Regions from separate parts of the Homo sapiens genome. Here region 1 is linked to region 2. Evidence: promoter capture Hi-C in 16 types of primary human blood cells and fetal thymus (Javierre and others, 2016). All regions are on one chromosome and are shown on one strand. The core of a region is centred on a gene start or on the middle of the fragment in contact, and the rest is flanking DNA. Distances in the headings are between cores, read along the strand shown. Region 1 has its middle 100 kb from the start of LINC03042. Region 2 holds the start of LINC03042 (long intergenic non-protein coding RNA 3042).

Region 1 (2,700 bases), core at 100-2,599, 100 kb before region 2:
TGCACAACTGTGATGATGATGATGATGACCATGATGATGAGGTCCCACTCATTCACTTGGGTAGCTTTCCATTTAGGATGGAGATGAAACTGCAATTCAAGGGAGAAAATAAAATCAAGAGGGCATGGATGAAGAACTCTGGGCAGTGGGGGTAAGGGAGAAACTTCTTCTCCGTGGGGTGATGAGGGAAGACTTTGAGGGGAAGATAGAACTTAGCAGGGCTTTTGAGGTCAGGAGTTCAGTGTGCCACAGTGAGAGAAGGATGTTTCTAGGGGAGGAAGCACCATGAGCAAAAATACAGAGTAGGGGGAGAATCTGGCTACGCAGTTGGGGATTACTGGAACCTTTGGGATTTTGAGGTTGGAGTGTACTCTCTTGCGTGTGTGCACTAGATCACGTCCCCTCTTGCCTATTCAAGGACATCCCTCCAGCAATTTTCCTCTTTCTCTCCTGCAGCATTCCTGTTTCTCCCCTCCTGTATCATTCCTGTCAACGTCCAAATATGCTATTATTTTACCTATCTCAAAACAAAACCAAAAGCCTCCTTGACTCCACGCCTCTGCTCACCTTTAGAACAAAGCTCCTAGGAAGTTAGCTACACTCACTGTCTCCAATTTTCCTTCTCCTAACCTCTCACAGCCCACCCTTTCAGGCTGCCACACTTACCATTCTGCTGAGATTATACAGCCTGAGTATCTCTTATCCCAAATGCTTGGGACCAGAAGTGTTTCGAATTTTGGATTTTTTTTCTGATTTTTGAATATTTGCAATTTACTTACCGGTTGAGCAGGCCAAATCTGAAAATGCAAATTTCAAAATTCTCCCATGAGCATTTTTTTTTGAGCATCATGTGGGCACTCCAAAAATTGTTGATCTTGGAGAACTTTGAATTTCAGATTTTCAGATTTGAGATGCTCAGCTTGTACTTCTCAAGGTCACCAATGACCTCCACATTGTTCAAGCCAATGTTTACCTTTCTGGACCCCTCGAGAGCATTTGTCGTAGTTGATCAACACTGTCACCTTGAAATGCTTTCTTCACTTGGTTTCCAGATAGCATACTGTCCCAGTTTTCCCCCTACCTCATGAGATGCTCCCTATGATCAGTCTTTTCTGGTTCCTCCCCATCTCCCTGACCTCTTCCCACTTGAGTACCCCAGGGCTCTGGCTTGGATTTCTTCTTCTTTTTTTTTTTTTTTTGAGATGGAGTCTCGCTCTGTTGCCCAGGCTGGAGTGCAGTGGTGCGATCTTGGCTCACTGCAAGCTCCACCTCCCGGGTTCACGCCATTCTCCTGCCTCAGCCTCCCGAGTAGCTGGGACTACAGGCACCTGCTACCACACCCGGCTAATTTTTTGTATTTTTAGTGGAGACAGGGTTTCACTGTGTTAGCCAGGATGGTCTTGATCTCCTGACCTCGTGATCCGCCTGCCTCGGCCTCCCAAAGTGCTGGGATTACAGGCCTAAGCCACTACTCCCAGCCTTCATTTTATTTTAAAGCCAGTGTTTGCTTACTTTTTCTTTTGTCTTAATTTTTTTTTTTTTGAGATGGATTCTCACTCTGTCACCTAGACAGGAGTGCAGTGCCGTGATCTCACAACACTGCAATCTCCACCTCCCGGGTTCAAGTGATTTTCCTGCTCGGCCTCTCGAGTAGCTGGGATTACAGGTGCCCGCCACCATGTCCAGCTAATTTTTGTAGTTTTAGTAGAGACAAGGTTTCTCCATGTTGGCCAGGCTGATCTGAAAGCCCTGACCTCAAGTGATCTGCCCGCCTCGGCCCCCAAGGTGCTGGAATTATAGGCATGAGCCACCACGCCCGGCCAATTTTTTTAAATATGGAAAAAATGTATACAACATAAAATTTACCAGCTTGATCATTTTTAAGAGTACAGATCAGTAGTATCAAGTACATTGGCATTGTTGTGAAACAGATGTCCAAAACTCTTTTAATCTTGCAAAGCTCAAACCCTTTACCCAATAAACAAGCCCCCTCCATTCCTCCTTTGCCCAAACCCCTGGCAACCACCATTCTACTTCCTATTTCTATAAATATAACTACACTAGGGACCTCATATAAGTGGGCTCATACAGAATGTGTGTTTTTGTGACTGGCATATTTCACTTAGCATATAAGCATGTCAGTTTTTCCCCTAAACCTGATCTTCCCCCAGGCTTCTCTATCTCATTTGATGATGACTCCATCCTTCTACCTGCTCCATTGAAACACCTGGAGTCATTCTTGACTCCTTTCTGTTACACCTCACATCCAATCCAGCAGGAAATCCCACTGACTCTACTTCAAAATATGTTCAGATTTGGGCCACTTCCATCCCTCGACTATTATGCTCATGGTCCAACCCATCATCTTTTCTCACCTGGCTTATGGCAATAGGTTTTTAAGTTGGATGACCTATCTCCCTTCTCTCCTTTAAGCCCTCCAAGGGCTTCCCACCTCCAACAGGGAAATGTCAAAGGGCTTTAATAATCAACAGATCCTACGTGATCTGGCTCCCATTTGCTCTGTGAGCTCATCTCTTACTAGTCTCCCCTTGTGTCGGTGTTATCTTTGACTGCATAGCAAATTACCCCAACACTTGATGGCTTAAAACAACATTTATTATCTCACCATTTCCAGGTAGGAGGTGGGGTGTGGTTTAGCTAGGTCCTCCAACTCAGTCTCTCACAAGGCTGCAGTCAAAG
Region 2 (2,700 bases), core at 193-2,692:
GCGCCACCACGCTGGGCTAATTTTTGTATTTTTAGTAGAGACAGGGGTTTCACTGTTGGTCAGGCTGGTCTCGAACTCCTGACCTCAGGTGATCCACCATCCTCAGCCTCCCAAAGTGCTGAGATTACAGGCGTGAGCCACTGCACCTGGCGCCTTTTCCAGATTTGAAGTTGCAGGGAGAGCTGAGGATATTCACAGGGCAAGGACTTGAGGCAGAGAGACGAAGACTCGGGTCTGCCAAAGCAAGGTCATTCCCTCTGGATTCTAGTTCTTCAGATGGATAGAATGAGGTCAAAGATAAAGCTCTCACCCAAGCAGGAGGAAAAAAACGCTCTCAAGGATTGCCAGACTCTAAAAGTTTCAGAGTTGAAAAGGGCATTTCAAGCTATAAGCAGCCAGCCAAGAGCTAGGCACAGGGTGTCTCAGTTCTTGGCATTGCTGGGCCAGCATCTATACTTAGGGAAAATCCACATGGAAGGACCCCTTCTCCTCTCTCCAGGAAAACACTCAGCTTAATGACAGCTGGGTCCAGAGCAGGGGCCTAGCAAGTCCTTGTCTGGGCCTCTGGTGCCGGAGTCAAAGGAGGTCCTGATCCAGCCTTGGGATTCCAGCAAGGACTTTACCCCATATTCAGGAGGGGAATCTACAGGTCTCCCTCAAAGACCCTCAGGACATTCTGTGGGCAGCCCCTCCACCATCTCCTCGCTGCTGTTCAAATTCTCACTTTTATTTGTGTGCCACTTTTAATTTGTCAAAGCACTGTCACATCTACTAGCTCACCTGATCTATGCCACCACATCAGAGGATACAGAAAGGTGGTATTAGGACATCTGACAGCCAAGGAAGCAGAGACTCCAGTGGTTAATGTCTAGCCCAGGACCACAGCTACTAGCAGAGGCTACACCTATACCCCTGACTTCACATCACACTCTGCCACACTCCCTCTCCTGTGTGAGGGCTCCCCCAGGAAAAGAGGAAAGACAGGAGCTATTCTAGGCAAAGTAACCTTAAATCTGAAAGCAGAAGATGAATTGCAAGGAAGTGCAGCTCCAGGACGTGTTCCCCTATCTTCCCATCAGAACTCAGCCAGCAGCCATGGACACAGGCCTCTCTTTCCTCTGCACTGCTTCCCCACCCTGGTTCCCGCTCTGGGGTAGGTCCCTCCCAGACCATTATGGCTGGGACGTGCAGCATCTTTTTTCTCTGCTTCTCCAGTAACAGCTGGTTCTGCTCAACTCCCAAAGATGATTTTCAAGAACCCCAACACTACTATCTGCCTGGGCTGCCAGAAAGAGAAAGGGCACCCTCAGAGACACTGAAGACCACCCTCCAGAAGCCGCCAGCACTTTCTATCATGTGACTAGCTCTGGGTGCTCCTTATCTAGCGAAAGGGGCTGGCTCAAATGGCACAGATATTGAAGATCTTCCTGAAGAAGACAGGAAGAGATGCTCAGGTCAGGGAGGGAATGAGACCCCTGGGGAAGGGACTCCTCCCAGCTGAGGAGTTGATTAGAAGCAATCTTGGAGTTGGCAGGAGCCTTAGAGACTGCCTGAGCCAGTCCGGGAAGCTGGCTGAGGAGCTTGGGAGCAAGAGACTAAAACCAGCCAAGTTTGGGACAGAAGGGAAGGAAAGGGTTGAGCAGCGAACAGAGAGACAAAGAACAGGCAGTTCCAAAGAGCCAAGAATGCAAATCATTTGCAGACGCCGCTGGCGAGAGCCTCCACCAAGGCTGCTGTGGGGGTGCCTGATGCCACGAGCACAGCCACTTCTACACGTCACGGTGAGCGTGAGCCCATGCATGTGAGTGTCCCCGCTGAGTCATTCCATGTGTGTAATGATTGTGTCAGTTGTGAGTCACCAATTGTGTGTCAGTCAGGGCGGGGTGTGTGTGTGCTCAGTGCACAAGCACGTGAGGGCTGCCAGTGCCCAGAGTGACAGTGGAATGTGAATGAGAGCCAGAGAACCCGAGGAGCTCAGAGCACTCCCAGGGGGAAGCTGTGTTTAAAGGGCACCACGCTTCATTCACACCGTACATCACACACCACATTTCTGAACACGTTCCAGAGAAAGCCATCTGTGCCCGCTTCCTGCTGAAACCCCCTATGGAGCAGCAGTGCTGAATTCTTCAGGCTCACGGGGTTGTTATCAGAGTCAGAGATGGCCACAATCTTAGAATCCTGCATTTCAAGCCCTTCGTTTTGCAGAGGGAGGAACTGTGGCAGAGAAAGCTGACACAATGGTCCCAGAGTCACAGAGCTAGCTGGTAGAAAAGCCAGGTGTGGACCCAGGTGTCTGTCCAGACTTCCCTGCCCAGGACTCGGTATGTCAGCACAAAGTGGGTCCTTTTTCCTTTTTTCAGCAGGGATGTGATGACATCACTTCTTTTAACTAAAATGCACCCAGATCTTCCCATGAAATGAAACCCTGATGTCACGTCCTAAAGGCTGGATTTGATGAATAGCCCAAAAGGCAAAGTTGGGGCATCTCTGGCCAGACGGTTCTAGACTGAGAGTCATTTGACCTATTTTCCAAGAGCCTTGCCCCACCCAGGTCAGGAGGAGTCCACAGGGAGACCCATTCTTAGGTCTCTAGGTCCAAGATTGGCCAGGCACTTTGGCAGCCTTGATGCTGTGTGATTCAGAAGCTGCTTATGAGATGTTTGCGGATGTCTCACACAGGACTCCTGACTCGTCATCCTG

The links. The method cuts DNA at HindIII sites, captures the fragments that hold promoters and counts their contacts. A CHiCAGO score of 5 or more calls a contact.
Region 1: a contact is called between a fragment that was not itself captured here and the fragment with the promoter of LINC03042 in region 2, in 1 of 17 cell types (M1 macrophages). The highest score is 5.3, in M1 macrophages.

Annotation. Positions count from the first base shown.
Region 1 is chr8:38,629,040-38,631,739 of GRCh38, reverse strand. No RefSeq gene overlaps it. Among named protein-coding and RNA genes, the nearest start is that of LINC03042, 100 kb to the right of the region's middle. The HindIII fragment of the contact is 2,809 bases long and covers 1-2,700 here.
Region 2 is chr8:38,527,404-38,530,103 of GRCh38, reverse strand. LINC03042 (long intergenic non-protein coding RNA 3042) reads left to right here and starts at 1,442. Exons shown (of 3, transcript NR_167676.1): 1 at 1,442-1,781. RefSeq lists enhancers at 1-690, 764-1,731, 1,788-1,837, 1,599-1,893, 1,276-2,475 and 1 more. The HindIII fragment of the contact is 18,415 bases long and covers 1-2,700 here.